Regions from separate parts of the Homo sapiens genome. Here all the other regions are linked to region 3. Evidence: promoter capture Hi-C in 16 types of primary human blood cells and fetal thymus (Javierre and others, 2016). All regions are on one chromosome and are shown on one strand. The core of a region is centred on a gene start or on the middle of the fragment in contact, and the rest is flanking DNA. Distances in the headings are between cores, read along the strand shown.

What was found. Contacts are between HindIII fragments. The CHiCAGO score rates a contact against its expected background, and 5 or more counts as called.
Region 1: a contact is called between a fragment that was not itself captured here and the fragment with the promoter of AGBL3 in region 3, in 6 of 17 cell types (naive CD8 T cells, non-activated CD4 T cells, naive CD4 T cells and 3 more). The highest score is 9.4, in naive CD8 T cells.
Region 2: a contact is called between a fragment that was not itself captured here and the fragment with the promoter of AGBL3 in region 3, in 10 of 17 cell types (naive CD4 T cells, naive CD8 T cells, activated CD4 T cells and 7 more). The highest score is 19.9, in naive CD4 T cells.
Region 4: a contact is called between the fragment with the promoter of AKR1B15 here and the fragment with the promoter of AGBL3 in region 3, in 16 of 17 cell types (total CD4 T cells, M0 macrophages, total CD8 T cells and 13 more). The highest score is 18.2, in total CD4 T cells.
Region 5: a fragment that was not itself captured here is called in contact with the fragment with the promoter of AGBL3 in region 3 in 7 of 17 cell types (naive CD4 T cells, naive B cells, non-activated CD4 T cells and 4 more); the score reaches 8.0 in naive CD4 T cells.
Region 6: a fragment that was not itself captured here is called in contact with the fragment with the promoter of AGBL3 in region 3 in 7 of 17 cell types (naive CD4 T cells, total CD8 T cells, naive B cells and 4 more); the score reaches 8.9 in naive CD4 T cells.
Region 7: a contact is called between a fragment that was not itself captured here and the fragment with the promoter of AGBL3 in region 3, in 5 of 17 cell types (naive CD4 T cells, naive CD8 T cells, total CD4 T cells and 2 more). The highest score is 7.7, in naive CD4 T cells.

The regions. Positions count from the first base shown.
Region 1 is chr7:134,702,255-134,705,284 of GRCh38, reverse strand. The region is part of intron 1 of LOC124901750 (a long non-coding RNA gene); the gene reads left to right. Among named protein-coding and RNA genes, the nearest start is that of BPGM, 57 kb to the right of the region's middle. RefSeq lists silencers at 1,313-1,523, 2,094-2,388. The HindIII fragment of the contact is 3,656 bases long and covers 1-3,030 here.
Region 2 is chr7:134,638,565-134,641,585 of GRCh38, reverse strand. The region is part of intron 1 of LOC124901750 (a long non-coding RNA gene); the gene reads left to right. Among named protein-coding and RNA genes, the nearest start is that of BPGM, 6.8 kb to the left of the region's middle. RefSeq lists a cis regulatory region at 1,300-1,720. The HindIII fragment of the contact is 2,133 bases long and covers 234-2,366 here.
Region 3 is chr7:134,985,073-134,987,929 of GRCh38, reverse strand. AGBL3 (AGBL carboxypeptidase 3) reads right to left here and starts at 1,422. Exons shown (of 17, transcript NM_178563.4): 1 at 1,229-1,422; 2 at 1-55. RefSeq lists enhancers at 731-990, 1,071-1,210, 1,221-1,520. The HindIII fragment of the contact is 3,121 bases long and covers 1-2,478 here.
Region 4 is chr7:134,547,823-134,550,578 of GRCh38, reverse strand. It overlaps AKR1B15 (aldo-keto reductase family 1 member B15), which reads right to left and starts at 1,469. Exons shown (of 12, transcript NM_001080538.3): 1 at 1,330-1,469. It overlaps LOC105375520 (a long non-coding RNA gene), which reads left to right. Exons shown (of 3, transcript XR_928005.3): 3 at 1-2,756. RefSeq lists an enhancer at 1,399-1,458. The HindIII fragment of the contact is 2,317 bases long and covers 43-2,359 here.
Region 5 is chr7:134,603,678-134,606,427 of GRCh38, reverse strand. No RefSeq gene overlaps it. Among named protein-coding and RNA genes, the nearest start is that of BPGM, 42 kb to the left of the region's middle. The HindIII fragment of the contact is 6,093 bases long and covers 1-2,750 here.
Region 6 is chr7:134,658,866-134,661,961 of GRCh38, reverse strand. It overlaps BPGM (bisphosphoglycerate mutase), which reads right to left. Exons shown (of 3, transcript NM_001724.5): 2 at 1-515. The coding sequence starts at 454. All of the region lies in intron 1 of LOC124901750 (a long non-coding RNA gene), which reads left to right. Among named protein-coding and RNA genes, the nearest start is that of BPGM, 14 kb to the right of the region's middle. The HindIII fragment of the contact is 2,528 bases long and covers 1-2,514 here.
Region 7 is chr7:134,622,011-134,624,831 of GRCh38, reverse strand. The region is part of intron 1 of LOC124901750 (a long non-coding RNA gene); the gene reads left to right. Among named protein-coding and RNA genes, the nearest start is that of BPGM, 23 kb to the left of the region's middle. The HindIII fragment of the contact is 644 bases long and covers 1,073-1,716 here.

The sequences.
Region 1 (3,030 bases), core at 76-2,575, 280 kb after region 3:
TTCCCAAAGATCACTGATTTTTCTCTTTATTGGGTTATAGACAATAATGTGCACTCTTCCCTTAACCCACTGATTTGTTTCCACTCTCCAACAACAGTAAAAATTATAGCAATCCTATGTTATGCATCTTCTATGTTCCAGAAACAATGTTGGGTGCTCGACATAAGCATATCATCTCATTTGACACTGACCTTAACTCTGCGTGTGGGTGTTATTAGCCCTGCTTGATAGGTAAGGAATCTGAGGTTCAGCGAAGCATGCCTCAGTAACCAAAAGTATCGTATTATTTTCATAATTATATTGCAGTGTGGCTTTGAGGTTTGGCAGATGTGAGCTTGAACCCTAGCCCTGACACTCACTGTAGTGGGACTTTGGATGAGTTGCTCAACTCTCCTGGACCCATTTCCCCGGGGTGCAAGGAGTCCCAGTGAGGGCCAAGAACTCCCTTTGGGTGTGAGGAAGAGGGTTTGCAGGTGGTACCATGGAGTGTATGGTTCTTGATCAGTTCACCCCTCTCTAGGGTACTCTGGGAAGGTCAAGTTCTCAAACTCCCCAAAGTCTCAAAATCCCCAAGAAGCCCCTTTCTGGAATTTGGGGTTTGCTTATGACTCCCTAGGAGTAGCTGAAGTTTTTCTAAGAGGACACGAACTTCTCACATTTCCTGAAATACTTTTCAGAGGGGTCTCCAGGGCCCACCTCAGAAAAAGTCTATTGGCAATGAGGTCCTGTGGTTTCTCAAAGTTAAATTGTGATAGGTTTGGCCCTTCCATCTGTTCTAATGAGCAAAGGGACTTCTTTGCTTGGTAGTTAGCCCTGCGTAGTGGGTGTATCCCAGGTCCCTACAACATTCAAAGTACTACCACACAGTGTTTACTAAGGTGACCCAGGAAAATTTCTTTAGCCATTATATGCAGAAAAAAAAAAAAGTGGAATGAAATCGCAGAAAGGCTTAGCCAAGGGCACTTTGAAATTCACAATACTCTATCAGAAAAGTCTCTACAGAAACAGTACTCCTGTAGGCTCTTGGTTATAAATATTTAAAGGTCTGAACACACGGAATGCCAAATTTGTCTATCGGCTCTGCAAATAAAACAACCTATTAATTATCCATTAGTACTACACATTTCCTAATTTATACATGCCTCAAATTGAGCTGTCCCTCCCTTATACAGTGGTTTGGCTGCTCCCTGGGGTGACCTAAGTGAGTCAGCTGCAAAGGAGACTGATGCTTTTATTTGCAGTTTGTTCTCAGCCTTTGACCTCAAAGAAACTGCTTTCGTAAGCGGGTAGGACTCTGCTTGGTGGGGGTGGCAGGGGGCAAATGCTTTCAGAACAACCCATCAGTGACATCCTGTGACCTGCAACGAAAGGCCTATGAGAGTAAGGGCCTCCTTTCTCAGCACGCCTTTCTCCTCACCCTAGTAATGCCTCAGACCATGTTTACGCCAGAATTAACATACTTCGGGGAAGCATGCAAAAGGAAATCAAATCTCCCTTTGCCTGGGCTTTGAGAATTTCTGAGCGATTTCTCACCTCCATTCTGCCTTATGCTTAGCTCTCTGAACACGGTGGCTTAGAAGAAGAAGCAGCACTGAGATCAAACTCTGCTTCTCTACCCCGAACACCTTCTGTCTGAAAAGAAGCAGAGAAAAAAGAAAGAGCTGGTCCTTGTTTTGTCGGTGAGAAGAATGGACCACATCAGTGGTTCTAAACCTGAAGCCTAAGAGTCAGCTGAGATGCTGGTTAAAATCCAGATTCCTGGGTCCCATCCCCAGTGGCCCTGGTTCATTAGTTCAAATTCCCCTGCGGATGGCTTCCAGACTAGCTTCTAGGGAGACATGGTAATCACTTAGTCCACCCAAGCTGATACAGCCTAAGGTTTTATAGGTCATTGACCCCCGCTATTCCTGGCAGCCTGGGGCCAGACAGCCAGTTCTCATCAAGCCTTTAACCAGTCACTGCCTCACTGATGTTAGATGTGACCTGGGCTTCCTGGTCAAATTCCTGATCATCCTGTCTTCCTCAATAATAACAACTCAAAGTTCCCGTGTTCTTCTTCCTCTGTAGTCAGAGATACCTTAAAAGCAAGGCAAAGAGAAACAAGAGAAGCTGGTTTATAGCTGAAGGGAAAGGCTCTTTGATCCATCTTTCTCTCACCACTGCCTGCTCCTTCTGTTCCATTCCTTCCTGTAATAGGCACAGTCATCATTTTTATGTTTTTTAAATAAATAAAAGCACAATCATGTCAGGGCTGAGCAGCACCTTTGAGAGGATCTGATCCCCTTCCTTACTGTTCAGGCAAGAAAACTGAAGACAGAGGTTAAGGAACTTGCCAAACGTCACAGCCAGCAGAGGTAGTGGTGGGATTTGAACCCAGGCAGTCTGGCTCCAGCACGCAGGCTTGTAGCCAGAATGTTCCACAATGCATAGATGCAATAAGAAAGCTGATCTAATAGCACAAGACAGGCGAGCATAACAATGTCGGGAAGACCCATGCAGAGGGCAGGGGAAAGGTTATCCTTGTGCTATTCTTGTAATTTTGTTCAACAAAATTGTCAGCATGTGGGCAGAAAAAGAGGCAAAGCCACACACTGTCTTAACCATTTGTAAGCACAGACTATATCACAAAGGGGATTAAAGCTCACATGGTCGGATTCTGGCCTCTCTCACTCCCTTCTCCTAACTCACAAGAAGAGTCAGGCAGCCTGGGCGGGACCGGACCTCTCATGGGCTCCAGCAGCCTGGAGTTCTTCTTCCCATGCTGCCTCTTCCCAACTGCATGGGTATTGTTTCTTCTGTAAATCGGGGAGAGGATTGTTCAACGGGATTACTGTGGGTGCTTTCCAACTCTGAAGTTGCAGGTGTGTCCCACCCTTGAGTGGCAGGGGTAGCTTTAGTGTAGCTTTCTATGCAGCTGAGGGGGACAGTAAATGCATGATCACATGCATTTTTACAGACTGGTTTTGGGTCGATTCATACCTCAAACTCCATGATGGAGAGAACTTTCATAGCCCTTGTAGCTCCTCTCAG
Region 2 (3,021 bases), core at 51-2,550, 350 kb after region 3:
AACTTTTCCCCTACATACATGCATATTTTCTTAAAGAAGTGACCTCACTCTACAAGTTGGAAGGTCAAACTCATAAAAGGAAGTCTTTATGAACCCTGCATCAACTTAAGAACATTACACACATATTTGTTTCCTTAGCTTTGGGGATTTATGAAATATTTTCTATATAGCAATAAGCCTATTTTTCTGCTATGGTTTATACACTGGTTCTGACGTAAGTTCTGAAAGAAGCTTCTCAGAATTGTTGACACCCATGAAGCATCTTTGAAATGGGTGTGTAACCTCATAATATAACACTTAGAAGGCAGTGACACTTACGTGGAAGTGTAATTTCTAGAATGTCTCATTAAAGCCTCTTTACACAATCTAATCCAAATCAGTATCAATCAAGGTTTATGTTTCAAATATTTTTTTCCATCCTCCTCATCCTATTCACAGACACACCACACCCCTAACACACTACCAACACCTTAGCCCAAGCTACCATCACCTCTTGCCGGCATTTTCTCAGTAGCCTCCTAACAAGTCTTTCTGAATCCACTTTTACTCTCTTCTAGGCAGCCAGGGGTGGGTGATATGGTAGAATACCTTAGTGATTGTGTCACAAGTCACCCCCTACCACTCCCCAGCTTAGAACAGTGGCTTCCCATTGCTCCTTATAGTGACCCTTCCTTCTCCCTATGATCATTTGGCCTTCACACATGTGTATTCCCTACCTAGAATGCTACATCCTTCCCCTCCTTCTCTTCTTCCTCCCTTCCCCACTCCCTGCCCCTTAGTCTAATGATTCCTATTCAACTTTGATATTTATTGAGTGGTCATCCTCCTGGAAAAACTTGATCCTACCTGGCTTATATCTCCTAGGCACCGTGCACTTCTTCTTTATAGAACTTTACACAAATCTACTTACACTGTATATGATCTGTTTCTCCATTGGTCTTCAAGCTCCCTAAACATATGGGCCCTGTTGCTTTGGTTTACCACTTGTCCACAATGTCTGGCATTAGGTGCTCAATTAATATATGTTAATAAATGAATGCATCAAAAAAGAAATAGATTAAATTTCCTGTCTTTTTTTTTTTTGCTAAATAGTACTTTTTGTGTATAGATTCACACAAATAAATAAGTACATGTCTTTTTAAAAACATTTATGCCTTTAGACCCTAGGAGTTTACAATAAAATGTGATATATATAAACTTATAAGAATAATGTTAAATTTTATGTGTGGACTGAAAATGTTAGCTCTGAAAGAAACAGAAATCATGTAGCTCAACTCCCTTATTTTATAGTTGAGAAAATAGAGGCTCAAAGTAGACGAAAGAATTGCTTAAATACAAAAGCAGTTAAAGCACAGAATGAGAATTGAAGTTTCTTATGTATAGGGTAAAATCAACCTTCTTAATTGTTTTCTCTTGTTTTCTTCCAGAGAAAAACAGATGTAACACGCAACTGGGAGGCCTTCCTAGGGCAGTGAAAGGCTGGTCCTAGCAGATAAGGTTCCAGGGGCTGCACTAGGTAGAGAAAGGCATATGATTACTTAGTCAAAACAAGTGCCAGGCCACAGATGCTAGTCAGCTGAGATGACATGAAGCCTAATGGGTCTGAAAAATAGAGAGGGGAAAACTTTTTAAGAAATCTAAAACAGTATAAAAATCACAACGGAGAGTAAAGGCTATCTATTTAAAGATGAAATCATCTTAAACCTCTAAACTAAGCCCGTCTATGTAAAATACTTTTTCTTTGGGTGTAAGCATTTTGGAGGCTACCTGAGATTCTAAGGGGCACCCTTTTTAAAAATGTTCTCTACTGGCTTTGAGAGCTGTTGTTTCTATAGCAACTTATAGTTGTTATTTTATGTCTAGAGAGATGCTACTTTTTTCCTAAAGAGCTATGATTCCAACATGAGTGAGACAAAGTTCTTTATGTTTCTCATTTAAGTACTCACAGAATCCTTATAAAATAAAATCCTTATAAAATAAATTTAATAAAATTTATTTTTATAATAAAATTTAAAAATATAAAATTAAAATAAAAATATAAAATTTAAAAATAATAAAATGTAAGAAATAGCTTGACTGGCTTCATTTATTAGTAACTTTTGAAATAAGGAATGAAGAGAGTAAATAATTAATTGTTTATATCATCAGTCAGTACCAACCACTAAATTCCAGTCTCTGCCAGGTGAGTGTCCTAACTAGTTTCTGATGTTGTCACTCTGTGAGGTATCAGATAAGAGGAATAGGTAAATTGCTGTTTGCAACCAGAAGATGTAAAAATCAGATAGGGAAGAAAAATCACTCTCATATGATGTTCTCTTTACTAAGTTACGACTTATAAAGTGAGTAATGGCAAAGGCTTCAAAGCTTGGTAATTCGAAGTAAGATGATGTTTAGATTGCTAGGATCCTGGATCACTATCACAGCCGAAACAAAGAAGGAACTGCAGTGCCAAATGACATACATGTCTTCACCATCAGAATACCAACAAGTGTATAAAGGCCTGGCATTGATATATTGCTAGAGTTTCCCTTCTGTAGATAATTGTTTTTATGCACAGCAGGAAAGGACCTGTGTTCTCAGCTCCAAACCCAGCTATATTCAGTAAAACAAGAATAGACCAACCTCTAACAAAATATTATGGAAAATGCTTTCATTTCTTTTCTTCTGAAAAAAGGTAACTATAGCATATTCTCTTCTCCTAAACTCATCTATTTCCTTATGCTTTGCTGCATCTCTGCCCTCTCTAAAAATGGGAGAAAAAGGAGAAAAAAAAAGGATAAAGAAGAAGAATAAGTAAAGTCTTCAGAAGTGTACAGGTTCTGGTCTCAACTAGCAAATCAATAAGTAACCAATTATTCATTGAATTCCTCCTAATGTTCAAGAACTTGTGTTAGGAATTTTGAAGGAAATGAATTAGTATTTTTCGTGCCTACTATAAACAAGTCACTGTGCCAAGTACAAGAGATATATAAATAAATTAAACATCCTCCTTGTCCTCAAGGTCCAGTAGGGGAAAGACTA
Region 3 (2,857 bases), core at 173-2,672:
TCCAGTGTTTGACTTGAGATTTCTTGTAATATACGGGTAGGCTGTAAAACAATTTCTAAGGAAATTATATGACAGCTTTTCTTTTCAAGCTGTAGGTGTTTACTACATTAAATGAGTACTCAAAAATATATTCAATTGTATTTAACAGTCACAACAGTCTTCTCTAAAAACTAATTAGAATACAACTAATAAAACCTTCAATTTCAAAGAGTTAAAGGAATTTTCCATGACTATACGAGACAACAACCACAATAAGACAAATCAAGCAAATCATTTAATTAAAAGGAATTTCCAGAGTATACAGCCAAATCATTCACATTTTATATTTACAATTAAATACTACACAGCAAGTTCAGAATGATCCTGAGGCATTAAAAGATAATGAATTTAAAAATTATAGTCACTTACTGAAATGTAGCAATATAATTTTAAGTTTTCTCCTTGATTTTCACTTGACCAAAAGTTCAAGTGACAAGACTTTACATTTTGATTATTATTCTGTAGATACTGTCTGTTCTAATATTCATTTATATTATTCTTATTCTTAGAAATCTAAATAGCTACCAGAAGGTTGTATTGGTAATGACCATTACCATTCTATGCAAGTATCTTCCCATGTGGGTAATATCAAGACCAGGGAATAATCGAAATTTCTTGTCAAGTTCCCATCGTTCTTGAGAGACCAAAGGACTCGACAATTTCAAATCTATTAGTTTACGCCCCTCTCTACAGGAAGCGTGTTTTGGAGCGTGGACTACATATAAGTTAAGTCCAAGCTCTATGGCAAATCACTGCCAATGCCACGGAACCGACTGTCTCATAGATGACACCTTCAGTCCTAAGAAACTGAAGTTTCTGCCTGGGCATCACAACTCCACATTTGGAAAATCCGACTGGCCTAAATTCCATTCCTTACAGGTGCACACAGGGCGCACGAAGTGCTGACCTGCTGCGGATACAGCTCTGGTCTCAGGAAACGGCCCTTATCCACCGGCGCTCCGCGGGTGTCTTCCACCACTGCGGAGGAGGGGCAGATGCGGGCGCGTCCACGCTTAGCCGCGTCCCGACAGTACCAAGGCGTTTTTGGCGGGAAGCACGATGAGGCCACAACTCCGGGCGGCCGAGTTCCTTCCCGCACTCACTCCTGGACACCTTGGTGTGGGGAGGCGCTCATTTTCCGGGGCGCGCTCGCTTCCCGCAGGGGGCGCCCCGCCTTACTTCTGCATACCTCACCGTCCTGTCGGGGCCGGCACCTCGCTCCCACGCGAGTCCTCTGGCCAGGCCAGTCGTCGCTTCCGTGCGGGGAGAATATCTCGGGATCTCGCGATCTCGCGGAGAACCCGGTATCCAGCCGCTAGAAGTAACGCCACTGCTGGAGATCCGCAGCCCCAGCCACACTCCCAACTCTCGTCATCAGGCAACGGGTCCGCCCTCGCGAGACTTCGGACAGCCTTCGGAGATCACCTAGCAACCAGCTCGGAGGAAAGGAGCCTGCGTAGGTTTTGGCTCCAGGAAGAGGGATCCCAGAGGATGCCGGGAACTCGGGGTGGGCCGCAGGGCGGTCAGAGAGGCTCTCAGAGAGGCTTTGGGGTCTGTCGGGAGAATTTAGGAGTGGGGAAGACCGGGCAGCTATTTATTCCCAGTGGTCTGCACTTCGGCTGTTGCCTCAGAGGAGGCAGTAGAGCATGCTGGTTAGGACTGTGCTTTGGAGCCCACCTGACTTTTAACAGTGTGACATTGAACAAATTAATTACCTGGACTTCATGGGTACAATACTTGTAACTACTACTTGGAGATGTTAGAATATTAAAAAGTACGTTGGTCTTGATTTTTTACAGACTGAGTTCCATTCTACACAATTGTGCGATTAATTCGCTTATTCGATTCTGGAAAATGAGGCTTTTCTCCTTAAATACTAAATGGAGAGTCATAGATGAACTAGGGTGAATTCTCAAAATTATCAGCTCAGAGATTCTTTATAGCAATCGTCAGCTAGCATATTTAACACTGTTTTCCTGATGACTGCAAATCACTATATGTAGTCTCATTTAGTTAACAGACGTTATTCATGAACATCCCATATTGATTTTTTCCCTCATCTTTAGCTCTACAGGGTAAGGTAATCTATTTGGAAAAGTTTTCCAAGTACAGCTGAAAAAAAGTCTAGATTTTGATGATATAAGAATGTAAATAAACACTTTTCACAAAGCGTTATATGTCATGAGATTCGTGATATTGTAGAAATGGAGATAATAAATGGTAGCAAGTTTGAAAGTAGAATAAAGGGCAAAGCACTATGGCTTAAGCATGGAAATGGGTTAACATAATCTCTTTGTATTTTGTAAGTATCTGAAAATAGGTGTTTTTGAGGTCAGCAGTTTAAAAGTATGAACCTTCCAGATTAGACCTTGGCCAGAGAATATTAATAGAGTATATCTTAGATCAACCTCTTGAAAAGTAGCTCTTATAGTTGAAGCTTGTTTTATGCCATACATAAATCACTAAAGGTGACATGCACAGAGAAATCTTTATTTATGTAATCTGTTTTTCTGTTGGATTTTAGTCATGGCTGCAAGCCATAGGATGTCAGCTGTACAAGGTAAAACTGAGAAATGGTCTAACCAGGTTATATAAGAAATTAATGGCAGGGCTGAGAGACTTAAGTCTCGTGATTTTTAGTCCAAATAGTTATATTATCACATACCAAGTAGTCCATGGGAAGAAAAATGATCTTAATGCATAATTTTAAAAACTTAGGATTTTTTTTTTTTTTTTGAGACAGAATCTCACTTGCTCTGTCGCCCAGGCTGGAGTGCTGTGGTGCAATCTCAGCTCACTGCAACCTCTGCCTTTGGGG
Region 4 (2,756 bases), core at 220-2,719, 440 kb after region 3:
TAGCCAATATTTCTTGCCACATAAGGTCTGTCTCCTCAAGCTTCGAGATCTATGGAGAGGATAAGAGGTGGGTCCAAGGGATCCTCAGCCAGTGGGACTTAGGTGACCCCCCCTTCTTGACTTATATCCCAAATAACTTTGGTGTCTCCACGACTCGAAAGCAAAATGTTCAAACTCGGTCCTTTCCTTCACGGGTTTAAGGAGGGAGAACACAGCCAAGTCTTAGAGACGCTGGACTTGCTGCAACACAGGAAAATGAGATGTGCAGGGTAAGGGATGGGGATGAGGAGGAAAGGGGCCACTTGGATTTCCCTAAAGGTTGGAGAGTAGCCAAAAGAGGTAAAATAAGAGTCCAGACAGAGTAGAGCAGTATGGGTGTAGGTTTCTCTGCACAGTGCCTTATTTAAGGGCATGGGAAAAGTTATGGGATGACAGAAAAGGTGAGTAAGGAGGTCAGCAGGGTGGCTATTTTGGATCCACCACTGGTCTAAGGAGAAGGTGGACCAGTCGTTGGGGCGTGGGGTATGGCAATCCAAACGCCAGCAATCTTTATGGTGCCAGAAATCCTAAACGGGTGAATGTCTTCCACACCCTTCCCCATAACAACACCTAATTTGTTTCTGACAGGAAAGGCAGGACTGGGATGGCCAGCCCAACCGACTAATGAGGAATTTGACCTCCTGGGATAGAAAATCTGTACTAAGGACCTTGAAGAAGTCCTTGCCCAGTCATTTTGGGCAGTATCGACGATCCGACATATGAAATTTAGACAGACACTAAACAGGACAATAGGCACTGGGGTATATAAACAAGCATGGCAATTTTTATAGACAGACAAGGGGAGGGGGTCCCGTGATGGGATCAGTCAGATGCCCTCCTGGCTGCTCCCCTTTCGGGGACTTAGGCTCCTCTTGGCATTGGCAGGCTGGTATAAACCCCTGGCTTGGATCGAGCTATGCCTGATGCCGCCCTAAGCCTTATGAGGTCACCACGGAACCACAGGTGAGGGCCTTCTCGAATTCCCTAGCTTTCACCCTGGAGCTACAAACTGGAAATTCAAGCGCAAGCCCTTGAACTCCACATTCACTCACTCACTCACTCACTCAGAGTTTATTACAATTTTTATACCCATTCTAAAACAGAGATCTCCCGGAGACCTGAATGAGAGAGGGAGAAGAGATAGAGAGAGAGAGAGACTAGACTTAACAGAGAATCCTGACAGAAACCAGGACTCTGTCCTCCAGTGTCCTGGAGCATGGACAGAGTCTGAGGGAGGACCTTCGTCAGGGCCGTTTCCCTCCCAGAGAGACAGAGTCAGATCTGACTTACCTTCCCGGGACTAGAGACTGAGGACTCAGGAGTTGAATTTGGCTGGGCGCACCGGCAGTCGATCCGTTCCCCTCCAGAAGACAGTGGCCTGTGGAGCCCTGGAACGTCTTCAGGTGGCCCTGTAAGCCAGCTGTCTGTCTGGGGAAGCCCGGAATGAGTCAGGTCTTCACCCGGTGGCGAATCTCTCTGGGGCTTCCAAATGTCGTAACCGAGCAAGTCATAGAGAGAATGCCACACTCTGAGACTAATTCAGGAGTCCTTTATTGCTGGCGACTGAGAAAGAGCTAGAGCTTGAAATTCTCTCGGTCCGGAAGAAGAGGCTAGAGTTCTTTTTATACCTTGGCCTAAAGAGGGGAGGGGGAGTCTAGCTGAAGCAATTTTTTACAGAAGCAGAACAGGAAAAAATTAAAAGATAAATGGTTACAGAAACAGTTACAGGAAAATAAACAGTTCCAGGTGCAGGGGCTTAAAGTATCCCAAAGTGATAAAAGCAGGGGCTTTGGATACCACCAACCAAGTGTGCTCCCAGGAGCTGCTGGTACAGCTTGCCTCAGTATCTTATCAATAAGCGCATTCTTGGATGTGCTTGGAGTCAGCTTGCACCAGTTATGTCCTTAAGGAGGGGGACAAGGGGCTGCAAGCGAAGAAACCAAGCTAAGACTCTCTCAGCTATTGACTCTCTCGATATTGACTCTCAATTGAGTCTCCCAAGCTATTGACTCTCTCAGCTAAGAAAGAGTCAATCAGGATAAAACAAGATAGGGTATCACAATTTGATCTGCAAGATTATTTCCTGGACTTGTGAAAGGCGAGTCGTTTTGGTGCCCTGGGACATGTACAATAGCTATCTCTTCTGGCAATTGGAGATTGTTGAGGACACGAGCATCAGTTCTCTATGAACTAAATCTTGGCCTCTACTATTGATAAGAGCCCTCTCCATCCAAATTTTCCCAAATGTGTGTGCCTCCCCAGAGGGATACTTAGAGTCAGTATAGATAGATTTTCTTGGTTTTGTAAATGTCCTAAAGCTTGGCTGAGTGCAAACAGTTCACACCCTTGGACAGACCAATTATTAGACCCCCTTCCTGATTTTACTTTTTTAACAGTCTTTCCATTAATCACTGAATACCTATTATGTCTCTTTCTTTTAATCACCTGGGAGGTTCCATCTATGAATAAGTGCCACCCTGTCTTGAAGGGAGTTTTTCCTAAGTCTGGTTGAACTTTCGTATGGTAATTAATTCGATTTAAACACGCGTGCTCTCTCGTTTTACGTTTGGATCCCCCGTTAAAGAGCCTGCTGAATAAAGTGAATTATTAGTACTTAATATTAAATCACCTTTTTCCCAGAAAGATAGCCTCATATTTTAAAATTTTTGAGTTGGTAATCTCCCTCCTTGCGTTTTGATTTAATATAGTTTTAACTT
Region 5 (2,750 bases), core at 47-2,546, 380 kb after region 3:
TGAAGGGGTAAGACAATAGTGGAATTAAACAAACAATAGCAAATAATACAGGGAGGTCAGTCAGCTGGGGCCAAGAAGATCTTAAGCCCCATGCAAGTGTAAACCAGAGAAATGGTGAGACCTCAGCCATTGGGGAGATGACAGGTTACTCTCAGGTTAATTGTCTATAATCATCTCCTATCTGTCTACATGGGTAGCCTTTCCCCTGCTTTGAAACATTTCCTGCTAAACAACCCTTAACGATTTTCTATTTAAAGATCAGTTAATGTCACTAGGCCTCCTGGAATCCTTTGTACTTAGGCAATTCCCAGCACTAGATAAAATCAAACTTCTTGGCCAGGCATGGTGGCTCACGCCTGTAATCCCAGCTCTCAGGGAGACAAGAGGCGGGAGGATAGCTTAAGCCCAGGAGTTCGAGACCTGCCTGGGCAATATAGCGAGACCCTGTTCTCCACAAAAAGGAAACAAGAAAAAAGACAAAAAAAAAATCAACCTTCTTATCTCTCTTTCTCTGGGCAGCCAGGTGCTTGGCAGAAAATTACAAAAGTCTGCACAGTGACTTAATTCTAAATATGTGATATGTAACCTCAGTGGTGACTTCAATGTTCAACTTTCATTCTTCATGAACTTCTTAGGGGATTCCTCATGGAAGTATTCTAAGCCTTCCCCACTCCCTGAAATCCCTTACCACATTTCAGCTTCCCCAACTGCAGCAGTTGAGCTCACATCCTCCTTTATCTGGGGGGCTGAGGTCATCCATCCTGTCCTCTCTGAAGCCCTTCTCTACTGTAGAAAGAGCATAGGAGCTACAGAGTCTTTCCGGGTAGGTGTACCCAGTCGGATGGAGAAGATAGAAATTCCACCCTCTTCAATAGAAAGTAATAAAAATGGATATCCTGTATCTCATCTCTGAATCAACTTACTCCCCCAAAAGATGTTACAAACATTACTAACTGGAGTGTTTTCTAAACCATAGGAAGGAGCCTGAGGTGACGTCTTTTACAAATTTTATCTGGAAAGGCAATGCTTTCAAACTATACTCCAGCAAAATATGCTCCCATCATTAAACTTCAACTGACTTTATCCTATCCCGGTGGCATGTGGTTTGTGTATTCAGTCCTTCATTTGATAAATACTTACTCTAGAGACAAGCCTCATAGCCACTACACATACTGCCAAATACAGAGATGATGGAAGACTTGTATGTCTGATAATGAATATTGAAAGGGAAGAATCATTCATCCAGAATTTATGAGAATCTCCCTCCACAACTATCAAAAGAGGATCTACCCACTGGGCTGCAGGCATATGGCAGTGTGCTCTGTCCTTAGGATCAATCAAGATGGTAAGTGCCTCAGGCTTAAGTTATTTATTATAATCACTCTTCTGATATGCAAATCATTTTCAAAGGTTTTCTGGCTACTGAAAAGATCATATATGACCAGCAGGCAGGTGCACATATGTTTCAGTCGGCTTGATGGATATATCTCTCTGAATAGTTATGTAAGATTCTACTATATTTATCAGTTTTTTAATGACTAGATTATTATGGATCATCCCCGATATTATTCCTGAGTGGACTAACAAAAATACATTTTTAGAAATAATTTTTTAAATGTCAAAAACTGTAGACTGGACCTTGGTCTCAAAATGACCCTACTAAGGTACTGACAGCCTAAAAGATTCAGCTGGAGCCTCCTGTCTTTCTCTTGTTATTTTTTTTTTTTAAGACGGAGTCTAGCTCTGTCGCCCAGGCTGGAGTGCAGTGGTGCGATCTCAGCTCACTGCAACCTCTGCCGCCTGGTTCAAGCAATTCTCCTGCCTCAGCCTCCTGAGTAGCTGGGATTACAGGTGCCTGCCACTGCGCCCAGCTAATTTTTGTATTTTTAGTAGACACGGAGTTTCACCATCTTGGCGAGGCTGGTCTTGAACTCCTGACCTCGTGATCCACCCGCCCCAGCCACCCAAAGTGCTTGGATTACAGGCGTGAGCCACCGTGCCCGGCCTTCTCTCTCTCTCTTAAAGCCAAGGGTATTAAACACACATCCATTTGGAACTGTATTAATTGAGGTTATGTAATTTAATTGATGTATCAATATTAGTAAACTAATAAATCAATTTTTAATAAATTGAATTTAAAAATGAATTTAATTTGTGGAATTTGAACTGTATCCATTAATTGGGGGTATTCATCAAAAACAATTGGGTGTAACATAGGAATATAAGACCTATATCAAATATTTGGAGGGCTTTCATTAGGAATAGGAAAAGACCCGTTCCGTGCCGTCACTGCATGCAGAATTGAGATCTACAAATGGAGGATAAAGGAAGATGGCATTTTAGCTGCACGTTAAGAAAGACTTGCTAAACACAAGATTTTCTCCTAAATATTCGTTGGGAAGTGAATTCCTGATCCCTAGAGGTGTTTAAACATTAGCCAGACTGTGTGTAATATTGAAGATCTAGAAGACCTCCAGTGCCTCTGGGCCCCACCAGCCTCGAGTCTATGATTCTGTAACTAGGCAACTTAACTTCAAAATGCATTTTAAACGTTTTTTTTCCTTTCTCTTGGATTTCAACATATAACCTTGAAGCAAACTGCAGAAGCCTTTTTCCTTAGCCTTAAAATGGACTCCACGTCCCTCTTTCTCACCGAATATAGTCCCTTCACATTTATCTAACTGCATGCTAGTGTCTAAAGGCACATAATTATTATGGGGCTAATTTTTAGGCAGACCAAGTCTGGAGAC
Region 6 (3,096 bases), core at 1-2,500, 330 kb after region 3:
GTTGATCCAAGGGCACATCGCATACTTTATACCTCCGGTCGTTGTAGATTTCTTGGTAGTAAGGATGAGACTCCTCAATGGGAGGCGGGGTTACATTGTAGCTTCTTCTCCAGAGCCTCACTTGTTCTTCACCATGATTCAAAGCCATCTGCTCCCTGTTGAGACCGATCAAGGCCCCATAGTGACGCTCATTTAGACGCCAGGAGCTTTCCACAGGCACCCATTCCTGGCCTAGCTCTTCCAGGATCAGCCAGGCTGTGTGAATGGACCGATTAAGGACAGATGTGAATACAAGATCAAACTCAAAGTTTAACGCTTTGAGTTGCTTCCCACAGTTCCGAGCTTCCTCCATTCCTTCGCTGTTGAGTTTCTGATCCACCCAGCTACAAAAACGGTTCTCCTTATTCCAAGCACCCTCTCCATGTCTTAACATAATAAGTTTGTACTTGGACATACTGATGGCTGAACTTCCCAGGCGTTTTCAAATGGGCTAATATTCAAGGACAGCAATACATCTAGAAAGACAAGAACAACAAGTCTAAGTTATATTCAACTGACAATCTAGGAATAGAAACATCGCTTTACAACACCCAATTTCTAAAAGAAACTGAAATCCCTTTGAACAGTCAGAAATGTGATAACTCATACACTGTGACACATACAGGCATATTCTATAGATATTAATAATTCATTACAGGGAATCTAGTTGACTTAAATTTTCTGATGTTTGGATAGCATGTTAATTGCATGACATAAAATAACAAAACACTTCATTCTAATGGCATGCTGTGTTTCTGCCAGATACAAAGGCAATTTATGCTTACAGTAGAAAGGATTTAATAGAATGAGTTACAGACGTCTGAAAGAATGACTAGTGGCTGGGAACTCCCAGCTCCCAGCAGCTGACTCTACACTGAAGGCATCCTTTTCACTTTGTTTTCCTGTGGTGGAAAAAGAAGTATTTACCAGTCTCACATTCTTATTATAGAAGTTATTAAACATGTTATTTCAATGCACCACTGCATATATCTGATATGTATCACTGGCTGGTGGCAACTAGCTCTTCAATGCCACAGGCTACAACACACAAGAAAATCTAAGGTATGCAAAACACATCAGTTCAACATTCAGACAAATTAAAAGTGCTTTAAAGAGACATTAACACCAAATATGGTACGTACCTAAATAATCTTGCACCTACCTCAAGATAGAGTTTTCAGCAGGAATAAATCCAGATGCAAAATAAGCTATCAAATGCAAGCAGCTGAGGGATGCTGCCTGTACAAACAGATCTGGTAGGCAGGAGTGAGAGGAACCACACTGATAAAGAGGCCCCACCTCCTCCTCCCCAGCCCTCCAGATATCCTACACACACCAGCTACGTCTTAGCAGGGGGAGAATCTAGTAAAGGGAGACCAGCAACTCTCAAGCTATGCTGAACTCCTTACATTTAAGCTGCTGGCCTGAAGATCTGCTGGGCCCACTCCATCCTCGGAGAATCTGCTGACATGGCTGCTCAGCCCGCCTCTCTCTCTCCTTGTGGTGGACACATCTGCACTGACACATGCTTGGTTTACACGCCCGGCCTCTCCATCTCTCCTCCAGTGTTTTGCACACTGGGTTGTAAAGATTATACGAGCACTACAGCCTGGTCTTCTGCCACTCTTGGCAACTTCCATTAACTGGAGATTTTCTCTCCCACTTAAACTGTGAGTCACCCACAGTAAAATAACAATCAATGGCAAAATTGATTGGAATCTAGATCTAGTTTCTACCTTTCTTTAGTAATTCCTAGAGATTCTGAAGGGAAAACAGTCTTTAAAATAAGGCTTTATATTTCAATGGAAGGCAAACAGAGGACTTAAGGAAAGAAATCAAATTGAGGTGATTTGCAAGTATCGTCATGTGTTGCTTAATGAAGGGAATATGTCCTGGCAAATGCATCATTAGGTGATTTTGTCGTGCAAACAACATAGAATGTACTTACACAAACCTAGATGGTATACATATTGTTACTTATGTTTTTTCATATGGAAAGCCAAGTATCCCAGCACAATTACTGAATATCAGTCATTTCCCCTACTCGATCTGCAATGCCAATGTCAAGTGCCACATATCAGATGTCTATATATGCTCCATTACCATCTTACAGGGCCACCATCATTTACACGATCCATGCTTGACTGAAACATCATTAGGTGGTGCATGACTGAAGTTGAAAGGCTACAGCAGTTAGGATGATGATTTTCCTTTCTTGTTAAGTACCAGGTTGCTGTGCATGTGCAGCAGGGAAGTGCCAGGGAACCAGAAGAGCCTGGGCTCAGGACCCAGATTAAAGCATCCCACAGAGCTGAGAATTCCCAAGGAGGAAGCCCAATGTCTCTGTCCTTAGCCTAGAAGAGGCATCAGGGTGGCAGAACAGAGAAGGGAACAAAAGGTATCTAGGCAGTGTTTTGCCAGATGACTGCCTGTGCCCAGGGGCAGAATAGTCATGAATCTAACAAAGTTCAAGCTTCAGAGCCCCTCACCTGTGAGAAACCAGGTGATGAACACACACACACACACACACACACACACACACACACACACGGAGGGGTGTGTGTAAGTGTGTTAATTTGCAAATGGAAGATATTTTTGCAGTGTTTCTTTACAAAGCCCCAATCCACCAAGTAGTAGAAGCCTCAGCTCCATCAAAAACTGTATCTACCCTTTGTAACCATTGATCATTTTGTTTTGTTATTGGTAGTGGAGGAGGGGGATGGAGAAAAAAGAAGCTATCAACTGTTCCTCTACCTTCACCCTCAGTTTATCTTGTCAAGTGAGAAACCTCCATAAGCTAATGAAGCCATTCTCTCTTCAGTTAAAGAAGGGCATGGTTAGACAAATTTTGTAGACAGAAGCACCTTTCCACCATCTTTTGATTATAAACTATATCAAGGGGACAAAACAATGTAGTAATAGCAACATGGACACTCAGGCACCCACCACCAAGCTTTGTGGTATCTTATTCTCCTATATTTGCTTACTGCATTAAAACAAAGTTCTGTTTTCTTTTTACTAAAAAAAAAATACACACACACACACACCAGAACAGAG
Region 7 (2,821 bases), core at 145-2,644, 360 kb after region 3:
TCCATCAGCAATATATGTGAGTTTTAATTGTTCTGCATCCTTACCAATACTTGATACTGTCAGTCTTAGATTTTAGCTATTCTAGTGGGCATGAAGTAGAATAACATTGGGGAAATCACCACTTCAGACTCAATTTTTCCATCTACACAATGGTGCAGTAAGACTTAGAAGTCAAAGGAAATAAGTATTTGAAAGGGCTTTGTAAAGTGTAAAGCGTTGATCAATACAAAATATTCATCTTGACAGAAGCCAAGATACATGATGCTGAACATACCACGCAGTCCTCTGGGTATAAATATAGGTTGAAAAAGATTAGACTGGGAAATAAAATGTTTGTTACTTTGTAACCATTTCCTTTTTGTTATATTATTTTCTTCCTGGAAAATTATATATAGGAAGACAAATTCAGGTAGTTAATTAACTGGAACCCCCAATCATTCATTCTAATCACCGATAGGCATCCAATAAATGTTTAGTTAAGCAATGAAGTATTTAGTTACACATTTCTCATAAGTACATGAATGTTGCTTATATTGCCCTTTTAAAGAACTTATTATTTCTTTAAGGAGATATAATCAACACATCTTCAGACATAATCTGCCTTTGGTCTGTTTCTGTTCAAGCAATGCTGCAGAGGCTTTTAGCTAGCCTGCTACTTCCAATAGCTGTGATCTTTCTTGAATTTTCATAATTTAGCTAAATATTTACATATATTGACTATCAACAAAAACATAGCAACCACATAAATATATTTTATTTGAAGCAAAATATTGTACTTGTAGATTTTTTTTCTTTTTGTAATTGGTATTCAATGATGCCTTTTTGTCCTCACTTATCAAAAGGAATCCTTCTTTTAGTGAAGTTAATACATAAGGAAATCAGCTTGAAAACTTCATGAGAACCAGTTTTCTAGAATCAACATCAACCATTATCTCTTTGTAGCCCCCTGGAACCTTCGAATGGAGAGGGGAGGATTCTCTTCCTTCACCCTCCCCCATTTCCCATTTGGGCAATACAAATAGCCCAAGTCTTAGTTATTCATTGAGTTTGATGTTAAGAGGTACAAAAAGCTTATAAGGCTCGCATTCAAGGGGAAACTGGGCCAACTATAAAATCTAAAGAGAAAGTACGATGTGAAAATTGTATCTGAAGGATAAAAAAGTGTGTCTCACATATATTTGAATCAGATGAATAGTCAGCTACTTTGTTTCTCTAAGAAAATTAGTATAATATTGTTTTCTAGCATAGTAGGATACTTCTGTGTATAATAAAAGACATCCTCAGTGTATTGGTGTTTTGGTTTTACTCACTCACCTTTGCCCATTTTGGACAACAGAAATGGAAAGCAAGAGTAATTTTGCTGGAGAAAGAGAGATGGCTGATGCTGGTATGTGGATATGCATGTATGGACATGTAGACCAAGGAGTCTCCTGTGTTCCCCGCCCTCCACACTCTCCTTCAAACACATTAACACGACAATGAAAGTATTCTGGCAAGTTTGGGTTTGTGGATGTGTCATGGGTTGATAAATTTGGTAAGTAGTTTCATATAATATTTTCATAGGTGAAGAATCAGAAGATTATCAAAAAATTGAAATAGTGTCAGAGTTCTATAGCTCAGGAATCTCCTGGCATCCATATACCTTTTACTTCGCTATCCATTTAAATATTTCTTCTAAAATCCCAATGTCAAACCCAGAGATTAAGACCAGAAGCTTGATCTGATAGCCCTCCTCAAAATACTTATCTTCCAGGTACTTTAAGGTTAATTTCACTGATGCCGTCTAGTGCTACAGTTTTGTCTCATGATACTTTTAGAGAAGTGCTTGAGGTTGATATATGCAATGCAAAGACATCTACTGGCCCAGTCACAGGTCATCTAATTTTCCATCTTTTTGCTACTCAATTCAAAATTGAAGACTTTGTAAACTCTCTGTAACCAATTTCCTTGTAAACGCAACTCATTTCTTGCCCTCCCTTTCCCCATGCCTTCTTTCCTGAGAAAACTGGGGCAAGTATTCATAAACATCTGTTGTGGTTGTTCTTTGATTCGTTGCAGATTTATTCTGTGTTCTGTTATGTTCTTTGTCCTGGGAACCTGACCTCTAGGTACTGTGTTACCGAGGTTCCCTTGCCCTCTGGTCAGTGGGAGGAGAAGATGTTGGAATATTTATTTTCAATATATCTCTCCTCACCATTTATTCCCACTCACCATCTGCTTCACCGTGGTTCTATCAATGGCCTCATCACTCAAACTATAGCTACCGTTGGGCAGCCCATCTTGACTCTAACTCTTAGCCAGTCTCCAAAAATTGCGTTTTCTCCCCCTACTGTTCAGGCCTGGGGATCATCAGAACTCCCTGCTATTCCTAGTGTCTGGGCACCTCAACATCCCTTGCTAGTTCCTCTAACCCGAACCACACCTCTAAATATTTCCTTTATGAAAAAGCCTCTACACAACAAAGCTGAGTGTGCTGTCTCTCTTGCTGAGAGGCTGATAGAGCCTCCTGTCTTCAAGTTCTTCACAGTTCATGAGACAGTGTCAGACTTAGGGATCATAGACTCCCCTAAGCCTGAAATTTAAAAAGTACCTGAGCACACAGACTCACATTTCCCTCTGTGCACTCACAGTACTTAGAGGGAAGCATGATGTCAGGAATAAAAACAAACTGAACTAATTAAATAGGAACATTTTTCTGAAACACCCTATGCCGTTTGAGTTAGAAGCCCATAGGAAAATATTATATTTGCATTTTTTCGGTCAAGAATGATATTTTCTGGGGACAGAAACAGAACTTGGGAAGATAATGACCGTTTGTGGA